Linked DNA regions of Homo sapiens: region 2 is linked to region 1. Evidence: promoter capture Hi-C in 16 types of primary human blood cells and fetal thymus (Javierre and others, 2016). All regions are on one chromosome and are shown on one strand. The core of a region is centred on a gene start or on the middle of the fragment in contact, and the rest is flanking DNA. Distances in the headings are between cores, read along the strand shown.

The links. Contacts are between HindIII fragments. The CHiCAGO score rates a contact against its expected background, and 5 or more counts as called.
Region 2: a fragment that was not itself captured here is called in contact with the fragment with the promoter of TMEM222 in region 1 in 1 of 17 cell types (endothelial precursors); the score reaches 6.4 in endothelial precursors.

Annotation. Positions count from the first base shown.
Region 1 is chr1:27,319,728-27,326,173 of GRCh38, reverse strand. TMEM222 (transmembrane protein 222) reads right to left here and starts at 4,011. Exons shown (of 6, transcript NM_032125.3): 1 at 3,783-4,011. The coding sequence starts at 3,976. It also overlaps the pseudogene ACTG1P20 and the pseudogene RNU6-48P. RefSeq lists enhancers at 2,956-3,502, 3,654-4,003, 3,503-4,050, 4,051-4,597. The HindIII fragment of the contact is 7,674 bases long and covers 1,433-6,446 here.
Region 2 is chr1:27,079,655-27,086,100 of GRCh38, reverse strand. No RefSeq gene overlaps it. Among named protein-coding and RNA genes, the nearest start is that of TENT5B, 70 kb to the right of the region's middle. The HindIII fragment of the contact is 3,206 bases long and covers 2,266-5,471 here.

The sequences.
Region 1 (6,446 bases), core at 2,762-5,261:
CCATGACATATTAATACCCTGCAAAGATCGGAGACTGCTGGCCATGCAGACTCACCAAGTCGCACTTGTCTTCCACAAGCACATTCTTACCTTGCCACGCAGTGACCAAGCCACATGTACTAAGGGTTGAAAGCAAAGATATGTACAGGGTATTAAACAAATACCAAGGGGAACAGTTAACTTGAATACAAGGTCAAAATCAGCAACAAGTTCTACAATCCAGTGCTGATATTAGATACAAGCTTCAACGACAATTTCTTTTCGAAGGCTTATTCCATTTTCGTGAGGCTAGCATGAGGTATATGCATTTGCCAGGGCCAATTTATACTTCTGAATTAACCCATGCAGCAAATGCTACGCATCGGCTCGCAGTCCATTTAGAAGCATTTGCGGTGGACGATACAGGGGCCTGACTCGTCATACTCCTGCTTGCTAATCCACATCTGCTGGAAGGTGGACAGTGAGGCCAGGATGGAGCCGCTGATCCACACAGAGTACTTGCACTCTGGGGGCACAATGAGCTTGATCTTCATGGTGCTGGATGCCAGGGCGTTAATCTCCTTCTGCATCCTGTCGGTGATGCCCGGGTACATGGTGGTGCCTCTGGATAGCCCTATGTTGGTGTACAGGTCTTTGCGGATGTCTACGTCACACTTCATGATGGAGTTGAACGTGGTCTCGTGGATGCCGCAAGATTCCATACCCAGGAAGGAAGGCTGGAACAGCGCCTCCGGACACTGGAACCGCTTGTTGCTGATGGTGATGACCTGGCCATCCGGCAGCTTGTAGCTCTTCTCCAGGGAGGAGGATGTGGTAGTGGCCATCTCCTGCTCGAAGTCCAGGGAGACAAAAATATGGAACGCTTCACGAATCTGCATGTCATCCTTGCGCAGGGGCCATGCTAATCTTCTCTGTATCGTTCCAATTTTAGTATATGTGCTGCTGAGGCGAGCACTAAACTGGTTTTTCATGCAGAATTACCAACATCTCTGAGGGGGTAGACAGATCTTTGGGTTCCATTTCCTCCTCTGATCTCTCCTCCAAAGACAGGTGACAGTTACTTGCGCCACATCTATGCCTAGCTCTGCAATCATCACTATACAGTAATACTACGATGGCTAATTGACCTTTCTCTCCCTCCTGCTGGAGGTGAGTCCTTTGAAGGTGACATGGTTTGGATCTGTCCCCGCCAAATCTCCTGTCAAACTGTAGTCCCCATATTGGAGGTGGGGGCTGGTGGTGGGATCATGAGGCTGGTTTTCTCATAAATGGTTCAGCACCATCCCTTTGGTGCTGTTCTCGTGATAGTGAGTTTTCCCAAGATCTGGTTGTTTAAAAGTGTGTAGCATCTCCCCCCTCACTCCCTCTTGCTCCTAATCCCGCCATGTGAGATGCCTCCCTCCCCCTTTGCCTTACACCATAACTGGAAGCTTCCTGAGGTCTCCCCAGAAGCAGAAGCCACTATGCTTCCTGTATAGCCTGCAGAAGCATGGGTCAATTAAACCTCTTTTCTTTAGAAATTATCCAGTCTCAAGTATTAGTGCAAGAATGGACTAACACAGAAGGGAACATGAACCCTTTGACAGGAACACAGTGTCTTATTCATCTTGGTCTTATGAACACCTGTACACAGATCTGAATAGAAATGGGCTATGAGCTGCTTTTGGCCCAGGTGACAAGGGATTGTGGTGCCTCCACCTCACGCTGCTACCATTCTCCGCAGAGGACCACGCCACAGATGGTGTTTTTGAGAATAAGAAAGGCTAAAGAGAGTTTAGGATCACAAGACAGGTTTTAAGAAAACCAATACATTTCCTGAGTATCCCTCCCAGTTATTTTCTTTTTTTTTGAAACGGAGTTTTGCTCTTGTTGTCCAGGCTGGAGTGCAAAAGCACGATCTTGGCTCACCGCAACCTCCACCTCCCGGGTTCAAGTGATTCTCCTGCCTCGGCCTCCTGAGTAGCTGGGATTACAGGCATGTGCCACCACCCCGGCTAATTTTGTATTTTTAGTAGAGATGGGGTTTCTCCATGTTGGTCAGGCTTGTCTTGAACTCCTGACCTCAGGTGATTCGCCCGCCTGGGCCTCCCAAAGTGCTGGGATTACAGGCCTGAGCCACCACGCCCGGCCCCTGTTATTTTCACACTAATATTTTATTTTCTTCACAGCACTCATCACTATCAGGTGCTCTTTTATTAGCTTACTTGTTTACTGTCTATCTCCTTCCACTATGACTTAAACTCTCAAAAGTCTAAAGACCATATCTCCTTTATTCATCACTGTATATTCGCATCACCTAGAACTATCTGGGAACACAGGGGTCACTTAGCACATGTGTTAGAAGAACACTGAATGAATTAATGTGCACATTTTCCTAAGATTTTATTTCACTATTTATTTTGAGACGGAGTTTCACTGTGTTGCCCATGCTGAAGTGCAGTGGTGCAATCTCGGCTCACTGCAAACTCCACTTCCCGGGTTGAGGCGATTCTCCTGCCTCAGCTTCCAGAGTAGCTGGGATTACAGGCACGTGCCACTATGCCCAGCTAATTTTTGTATTTTTAGTAGAGACGGGTTTCGCCACGATGGCCAGGTTGGTCTCGAACTACCTACCGATCCACCCTCCACTGCCTCCCAGAGTGCTGGGATTACAGGCATGAGCCACCGCGCCTGTCCCAATATTTTATTTTTAAAGAACAGATTTGGATGCTCTTATATGCATAAGTACTTGAAAACACAAAATAATTCAAGTATTTTAACATAATTCAAAAACTACGATCTTTTTAGAATCAGCAACACCTAAGGCCCCAAATGATCCCTTCTCCACATCACCACTGGCTGTTATTGATAGCGGAACAAGCTATCCCATCAGGTGAGAGTGGATAAGATGTAGTGCAAAGAGCAAGTTAGATCAGAAGACTGAGCTCTTCATGCCTTTGCTTATTGGGGTGCGAACCTGATCAAGACACTTAATGCTACAAGCAGCTCAGCTTCACCATCTGAGAAGATAACCTACCTTAGAAAATGGATGTTTAATTCTGATAAAATGGGTGTTTAAGAGCTTGGCAAACTATCCAGCACGGTGAGGAGGGGTTACGTTTATCAGCTGTCAAGGTTGAAGCAGGAGGGCAAACCACCTCTCCCCATATGAGAGCTCCTCCCAAAAGGCGCCAAGTAGTACCAGAGCACCTGCTTCTCCCCTGACAAAGGCTGATGTTACAGAAAGAACTTTGGTCTGGGAGGCAGACAACCTGGGATCTAAACCCAGTTTGCAACTGAGATGGCACGTGAGACAAAGGGTTGGACTCTCAGATCTCTGGGGGCCCTTCCAATGTTGACATCCCAGGATCTCGTGTGGTCCCAACCAAACTCCCACTCTTGCTCCCAGACCCAGCAGTATGTCTGGAATATGGTAAGCGACCAGTAAGCATTTGCTCAATGAGAGAATAAACCAGTGAATTAATAAAAATGTCTCCTCAGATCCGATAAGGGGCTCCCTCTTCTACACACTCACAGCTCGAGTCTCCCAGCCACTTGCCCTTTCCTGCTGGCCTACAACTCTCTCCCTGGCTACACCAGGTGTATTGAGAGCAGGGAGCGTGTCCCAGCCGTGTGCACAAACTGGCACTACATGGATGGCGGGGTTCTGGTGACTGGGCGAGGCGTGCGGGCCAGACCCGAGGAAAAGGCTTGCTGCGCGTTGGGGCCGGAGGCTAGCCCGGCCCGACTCCGGCTCTCCCTGGGCCCTCCTCGTCCCCAGGCGGATGCCGGAAGAGACTCACGTGAGCACCGGGATGGGCGTCCACACCACGCAGTAGGGGAAGCGACTCCGTTCCACATCCATGGCGACGCCGCCGGAGCCTTGATATTGCTTCATGTCCGTCTCGGCCGCCGTCGGCGCCTCCACTTCCGCCATCCTGGGCGGGGGTGGCGGCGGCGGCAACAAGAGCAGAGAACTCCCTTCCGCTTCCGCCATGCGGCGCGCGCCCCGCTCCGACTGGCCCCGGCTCTGGTGCCGCTCGTCCCCATGGCGTCACTTCCCGGAGATGGGGTCCGCCCCGCTTGGCCTTCCCCCGGGAATCCGAGCCGCGTTCCTCTGGGCCCGGCCAGCCCCGCCCCACTCCCTATGCGCCTGCCAGCCCCGAGTCTTTGCCGCTTATGCCCCGCGGCTGCAGAAGGGATGCTCTCAGGCAGTTCGCAGTCTAGCGCCGGAGACTTATAGAGAACTCTAATTCAGTACGCTGAGGGCTCCTAGGAGGTGTGGTACAGTCGCTATTTATTGAGCACTTCTTAGGTGCCAAGCACTTGACATGAATTGTTTCTAATCCCCATAAACTAATTAGACATCCAAATTAGGTATTCCCTCCTGTTACAGGTGAGAAACTGAGGTTCAAAAGGTGAGAGACCACGATGCAAACCCAAGTCTTTTTTTTTTTTTTTTTTTCTGAGGCGGAATTTTTTCTCTTGTTGCCCAGGCTGGAGGGCAATGGCACAATCTCGGCTCACTGCAACCTCCACCTCCCAGGTTCAGGCGATCCTGCCTCGGCCTCCCGAGTAGCTGGGATAACAGGCGCGTGCCACCACGCCCGGCTAATTTTTGTATTTTTAGTAGAGGTGGCGTTTCACCATGTTAGCCAGGATGGTCTCAAACTCCTGACCCTGTGATCCGCCCGCCTTGGCCTCCCAAAGTGCTGGGATTACAGGCGTGAGCCACCGCGCCTGGCCCAAACCCAAGTCTTATACCTCCCTTGCCCTTTTCATTCTGTGGCCCTCTCACGAGGTAGTGGTAGCATAAAGGAAGACACACACAGTTGTGTGTGCGCACGTGTGTGTGTGTGTGTGTTTTATTGTATATACAGGGAAGACTTGCTGGAAGATAGGATATTATTGAGTTGAGTCTTGATGTTTGCCATGTGGCACAGGAGTGGAAGTATGAGTGCAGCGGTACAAAGAAAGGAAGGCCGTGCAGAGCAGTGTGTGCAAGAGTGTGAATACTTACTGGAGTAAATCATAAGCCTTAGATGTGATCCAATCCCTTCATTGTACAAATGGGAAAACGGGCTCAGGGAAGTTAATTGTTTGAGATCACACACAACCATAATTAGAGAGAAGCCAGGCTCAAATGTTGGAGACTTTTGGCTTTTTAAAGGATGTCAAGACAAAGAAAATGAAGTCTACTGGGGTCTACTGGGGTGGGGAGGGGAAGTTGGGGACAGCCCAAAGTCAGAAGGAAGGCTGCCACTAAAAATCAGCCTTAAAGAAAAAAAAAAAAGAATAAAAAGAGTAATCAGGTAAAGGAAGGTATGGACAAATGCACTCAGGAAGTTAGGAGCTTCCCATTTGGGGAAGGTCCTTCTTCCACTGAATTACCCTCCCTCAATGCTGATCTATGGAGAGCTTGCTGTCCTGTTTGTAGCACCTAATATTTTCATGTTTTTTTGTGGGGGATGTCTGTCTCTGCTATAGAACTCTAAGGTCCTTGACTTCAGTAGCTGGCACAGTTCCTGGTGCAAAGCATATGCCCACTAGATGTTTACTGATTTATTAGGTGATTGAATAAATGGATGTTTTATAAAGACCTCAGAGATTCGCAGGCATGATAATGATTACAGTGGGTTAGAAAATGATTCTAACCCACTCCAAATTCTTTGAGCACGTTTGTACCTCTCCTTGACCCCTGTGCAGTGTGTGATCCTTGAAGGGCAACAACCAGCATCCAGCACAGGGTTTGGAATAGATTAGGTGTGTAGTTTACAGTTGTTGAGAATAAATTACATGACTTCTTGATTCAATCACTGTAGTTATCTAATCTCTTCTGGACCACAGGCTGTGAGGAAGGTCTGTGCCTTAGACATCTCCCTACCATGACTGTCAGCCCATAATTCTAGCACAGGGTTGCTGGGTACCCTTTAAACATTTATTGTAGGTATTGATGAATAAACAACCAAAGTAAGTCTCTCAGGGCCTGCCACAAGTTTGGTAGTACTAATACACGTACCACATTTAATCTGCCAAACTTCAATGGCTTCCCGTTGCACTTCGTATGAAACACAAATATCTTACTATGGCTCACAAAGCCCTGCACCATCTGGACCCATGCCCCTTCCTTATTTACTATACTACAGCCATCCTGGCCTTTTCTTTCAGTTCCTCTCATGCACTCCTTCATATTCCAGGGACTTGGCACACACTGTTCCCCTCTGCCTGAAATACTACTCCTATCTACTTAAAGCGGCTAACTTTCATTCTTCCAGTCTCAGATCAAATATTACTTTCTCAGCCCATCCCTGGTCTCCCAATCTAAATGAGAAAGCCCCCATTAATCTCCTGTTCTTTTTCTTCATAGCTTCTTTGTAGCTATGTACTATTTGCCTCCCCCACTTGACTGGAAACTCTATTTGTCTTGCTAACGTGTGTATACCCAATGCCCAGTATAGTGCCTAGTG
Region 2 (6,446 bases), core at 2,619-5,118, 240 kb after region 1:
AATTGCAGGAAACTGAATTCTGCAACAACCAATAAGCTTGGAAGATGACCCTGAGCCCCAGCTGGGGTCACAGTCTGGGCTAGTTCCTTGATTTCAGCCTGGTAAGATGCTAAGCAGAGGACTCAAAACATGCTGGGCTTCTGACCCACAGAAACTGTGACACAATAAATGTGTTTTTTGTTTGTTTGTTTGTTTGTTTGTTTGTTTTTGACGGAGTCTCGTTCTGTCACCCAGGCTGGAGTGCAATGGCACAATCTCGGCTTACTGCAACTTCCACCTCCTGGGTTCAAGAGATTCTCCTGCCTCAGCCTCCCAAGTAGCTGGGATTACAGGTGCGCGCCACCACACCTGGCTAATTTTTGTATTTTTAGTAGAGACGGTTTCGCCATGTTGACCAGGGTGGTCTCAAACTCCTGACCTCAGGTGATCTACCCACCTCAGCCTCCCAAAGTACTGAGATTACAGGCATGAGCCACCACGCCTGGCAAATGTGTGTTCTTTTAAGCCACTAAGTTTGTGGTAATGTATTACACAGCAATAGAAAACTAATACAGCCATTAGTTTACTTTTGTTTTGTTTGTGTGTGTGTTGGGGGTGGAGAGTGGATATTAGAAATGTTTTTAAAGTGGTGGGAAATGACCCAGTAGAGAAGGAAACACTTTGATAAAGTAAAAGAGGTAGAGATTCAGAATCAAGACATTCTGAGGCCAGGCACAGTGGCTCACATCTGTAATCCCAGCACTTTGGGAGGCTGAAGCAGGAGGAGCTCTTGAGTCCAGGAGTTCAAGACAAGCCTGGGCAACATAGAGACACTGTGTCTCTACAAAAAACAAAAGACAAAAAAACATAGCCAGGCATGGGTGGTGGCCCATGCCTGTGGCCCCAGCTAGTCAGGAGGCTGAGGTGGGAGGGTCGCTTCGCCCAGGAGATTGAGGCATGATTGCACCACTGCACTCCAGTCTTGGTGACAGAGCGAGACCCTGTCTTAAAAAGAAGGAGAAGGAGGAAAAGAAGGAGAAGAAAGAGAAGAAGGGGAAGAAGAAGGAGGAGAAGAAGAAAAGAAGAAAGAAGAGAGAGAAAAAAAAGACACCCTTGAGAGAAGTAGGGACAACATCTCCAAAGTAGGAAGAAGCAGATGGGTTTGCAGATTTTGTGGAGGAAAGATGAAAAGGTGTCTGTGTGACTGAAGGCATTAATTCTCTCAATAAATAGTCAGGCAAGGTTACCAAATCAAATGAGAATGAATCTAGAAAGGGAAATAGGAAATTTGAAGAAAGAGGAAAAGAAGTGAAATAGTTACCTTGAGAAAGAGGAGAAGAAAGAAACTGTTCGTGTTAGAAAAACAGTAGAGTTTTCCGTGTCGAGTCCCTTTGATGTTTGAGAACAGTGGCACTGCTCAGCTCAGCTGTACGAATTTGTCAGTGATCTTCAGATACTTGAGTGCAGGCACCAAGACAGATGGGTTTTGCCAGGCAAATAAGATGAAGTCAAAGAGGGGTTATGGAGTTCCAGGTATTGGCAAAGAGATAGTGATAATGATAAACCATAGACCCTAGAAGAGACCCAAAGAGAGGTTAAGACTGGAGGAAGTTGAGAACTAGGATTAATGTACTGGACATATCCCTGGACGGGAGCATTATTAAATGGGTCTCTGTTAGTTGGGGATGAGGCTAAGGTGCTGTCACAAAGCTGTCCCCAAATACAGCAGCTTCACATAAGTGTTTTTTTCTCATGTAACGATCCTGAGATAAGTGGTCCAGGTTGTTGGGGCCACTGTGTGCCCTGCTGTCATTCAATGCCAGGTTCCTTCCATCTCATTGCTCCTCTGACATCCCCTAAGGTGTCCTCCTAATTTTCATGGTCAAACCATGGTCCGTGTTTAAACCACGGGAAGGAAATGAGCATGAAGGAGAAGGCACCTAAATTCTAAAGCCTGTAGTTGGAGGTGACACACATCAATTCTGCTCACATCCATTGCCAATAACTTATGACATAGCCCCACCCAGCTGCAGGGAGGCTGGGAACTGTAGTCTCTAGGTGGGCAGCTAAGTAACTCTACTGTTTATACAAAAGAAAGAGAGAATAGATTTTGGTGGACACCAAGCAGTCTTTGCCATAAAGGGTATTTTAGCAAATGAGCATGATAATTGCAATATGTTATCTTGTAAATTTATTTAATAATTCCCCTGTTTTGAACACATTTGCCTATTATAACATTTTACCTATTATAACTAGTTTGCCAATTGACATCTCAGTACATAAGCTTTAGGGAGTACAGTTTCTGGTAAACATCTTCCTAAAAACATCTTCCTGAAAATCAATGACCAGCTAATAATGAAATCACCAGTCAAACGTAAGTGAAATGAGAGGTAAGCCTGTTTTTTCCTGAGATCATTTGCTAGCCAGGTATACAGGGGCTTCAGGTTGGGTGGTCTCACAAAGTCCAGAACTTAACCAAGAAGGAGAATCTGATATGAGACCCCAAAGTGTCATACTCTCAGAGTAAGGGTGAACCAGAAGAAACCAATCCCCCACCCCCAGGGGCCTGCAAGGAAATATGCCCTGGTGCCACAAAGAGCAGGAAGAAGACAATCAGATATCTGAGAAGTTGCATCCTGACACTACCCCTTATGCAGAATCGCACAAGAAACTCACATCACCTCCCATGCTCTACACATCTTCAAACTGTGAATTCAGTTGAAAATGACCTCGGGCTTGTAATGCCCCTAGTACCTGATAGAAGCAAATGCAAATGTTCTCTGAAGGAATGCACCATCATCCTCAGCCTCAAGATTTCAATAAATTATGTGTTTTAAAAATGCAAACTGGGCTTTTAAGAGACAGGGTCGGGGCTGGGCCTGGTGGCTCACGCCTGTAATCCCAGCACTTTGGGAGGCCAAGGCTGGTGGATCACCTGAAGTCAGGAGTTCAAGACCAGCCTGACCAACATGGAGAAACTCCGTCTCTACTAAAAATACAAAATTAGCCGGGCATGGTGGCACATGCCTGTAATCGCAGCTACTCGGGAGGCTGAGGCAGGAGAATCGCTTGATCCTGGGAGGCGGAGGTTGCGGTGAGCCAAGATCGCGCCATTGCACTGCAGCCTGGGCAAAAAGAGCAAAACTCCGTCTCAAAAAAAAAAAAAAAAAGAGAGAGACAGGGTCGGCTGGGTGCAGTGGCTCACGCCTGTAATCCTAGCACTCTGGGAGGCTGAGGCGAGTGGATCACAGGGTCAGGAGTTCAAGAGCAGCCTGGCCAAGATGGTGAAACCCCGTCTCTACTAAAAATACAAAAACTAGCTGGGCGTGGTGGCGGGAGCCTGGAGTCCCAGCTACTCAGGAAGCTGAGGCAGGAGAATCGCTTGAACCTGGGGGGCAGAGGCTGCAGTGAGCCAGGATCAAGCCACTGTACTCCAGCCTGGGAGACAGAGCAAGACTCCGTCTCAAAAAAAAGAAAAGTGAACTGTTAACCACGCAAACAAGGGAATAAGGTACCATGAGAGACCATAAAAGGCAGATATTTTTAAGTATGTTAAAATTCAGAGACCCCATAAAGAGAATGAAAAAATGAGGCATAACATGGAATAATACTTGAACTCATAAAACTAATAAAGAAGTTCTATCCAGAATATATAAAGTACTCCTACAAATCAATAAGAAAAAGACAAATCCAACTGGGCGCGGTGGCTCAGGCCTATAAATCCCAGCACTTTGGGAGGCTGAGGCAGGCAGATCACGAGGTCAGGAGATCGAGACCAGCCTGGCCAACATGGTGAAACTTCATCTCTACTAAAAATATGAAAACTAGCTGGGCGTGGTGGCGCATAGGCTGTAATCCCAGCTACTCAGGAGGCTGAGGCAGGAGAATCACTTGAACCAGGGAGTCGGAGGTTGCAGTGAGCCGAGATCACAGCACTGCACTCCAGCCTGGCGACAGAGCAAGACTCCATCTCAAAAAAAAGAGAAAAAGACAAATCCACTGATAGAAAAATAGACAAATTGGCACACCTGTAATTCCCAACAGTTTGGGAGGCTGAGGCCTACAGATCACTTGAACCCGGGAGTTCAAAACCAGCCTGGGCAAAATGGTGAGACCCCCATCTCTACAAAATACACAAAGATTAGCCAGGTGTGATGGCATAAGCCTATAGTTCAAGCTATTCAGGAGGCTGAGGTGGGAGGATGGCTTGAGTCTGGGAGGTCAAGGCTGCAGTGAGCTGAGATCATGCCACTGCACTCCAACCTGGGCGACAGAGCAAGATTCTGTCTCAATTTAAAAAAAAAAGAGAAGAAAAATAAATACATATAATAGGCATGTGACAGAAAAAGAAAATTCAAATGGCTAATAAATATATGGAAAAGTGCTTCACTCCATAAATAAGCAGGGAAATGCAAAAACTGTAATGAAATACCATGATACATGTGCCAGTTAGGAAAATTCAAAAGCCTGGCAATGTCAAATAGTGGCGAGGACGTGGTGCAGCACGGCCTCTCATATGCTGCTGGCGTATATCAGTATAACGACCTCCCGGGAGAGTTTGGCATTTTCCAGTAAAGTAGTATAAATACTCAGGCCCTAAGACTCAGAAACAGGACAGGAAAAATCCCCTAAGAAGTGTATGCACTATGTACCAGAAAACATGTCCACAAATGTTCAGAGTAGAATTGTTTATGTACACTCAAAGTGAAATAATTCAAATGCCTGTCAATAGTAAAGTGGTCCCTGCACTTTGGGAGGCCAAGGTGAGCAGATCACTTGAGCCTAGGAGTTCGAGACCAGCCTGGGCAATATGGCAAGACCTCTGTTTCTACAAAAAATACAAAAATTAGCCAGGCATAGTGGCACATGCCTGTAGTCCCGGCTACTCGGGAGGCTAAGTCAAGAGGATCACTTGAGCCCTGGAGGTTGAGGCTGCAATGAGCCAAGATCACATCCAGCCTGGGCAACAGAGTGAGACTCCATCTCCACAAAAAAAAAAAAAAAAAAAAAAAAAAAAATATATATATATATATATATACAGTAAAGTGGATAATTTTTATAATCATACTATGGAATATTAAACAGCAATGAAAACAAACAAACTAGAACTTCACAATAACATATATTGATGGTGTAAATCCAATGGTGAACAAAAGAAGCAAACACAAGAGATCTACAGGGAATGATTCCATTTACATAAAGTTCAAGAAGAGAAAAATCTAAATTATATTGTATAGGGATGGATAAACTAGAAAGAACCATAAAACTATACTGGCAGACAGAGATTATCATAAAAATACAAGGATGATTACCCTTAAGAGGAAAGGAGGGATGTGATTGAGAAGGGGCACGTGGGGATTCCTGTGGTGCTGGAATTATTTCCGTTTCTTGAGTCGGGTGGTGAATACACAGATGTTTATTTTATAATTACACATTATGCACTTCTAATTTATGTACCTTTCTGTTTGTGAGCTATATTTTATAGTTAAGCTTTTAAACAGAAAGAAGTTATTATGAATAGCTTTATGCTAATATATTTAAAGATTTAGGCAAAATGGGCCAGATGCAGTGGCTCACGCCTGTAATCTCAGCACTTTGGGAGGCTGAGGCGGGTGGATCACTTGAGGTCAGGAGCTTGAGACCAGCCTGGCCAACATGGTGAAACACTGTCTCTACTAAAAATACAAAAATTAGCCAGGCATGGTGGTGGGCACCTGTAATTCCACCTATTGGGGAGGCTGAGGCAGGAGAATCACTTGAACCAGGGAGGTGGAGGTTGCAGTGAGCCAAGATTGTACCACTGCACTCCAGCCTGGGCAACAGAGCAAAACTCCATCTCAAAAAAAAAAAAAAAATAGGCAAAATGAACAAATTTCTGGAAAACTATTACTCTCCAAAACTGAATCAAACAGAAATAAAATACCTGAATAGTTCTATAACTAGTTGCACTAGTTAGCTATTGCTGTGTAACAAATTACCACAAACTCAGCTGCTTAAAAACACACATTTGCAGCCAGGCACAGTGGCTCACACCTGTAATCCCAGCACTTTGGGAGGCCAAGGTGGGTGGATCACAAGGTCAGGAGATCGAGACCATCCTGGCTAACATGGTGAAACCCCATCTCTACTAAAAGTACAAAAAATTAGCCAGGTGTGGTGGTGGGCGCCTGTAGTCCCAGCTACTTGGGAGGCTGAGGCAGGAGAATCGCTTGAACCTAGGAGGAGGAGGTTGCAGTGAGCCAAGATCACACCACTACACTCCAGCCTGGGTGACAGAGTGAGACTCCATCTCAAAAAAACAAAAACAAAAAAAAGGCACACATTTACACATTTACTACCTGATGGTTTCTGTGGGTTAGGAGTCCTGGCATGGCTTAGCTGGGTCAAAGTCTCTCACAGGGTTGCAGTTGTTGGCCAGGGCTGGGGTGTCATCTGAAGACTCAACTGGGGAAAGACCCATGTCCAAA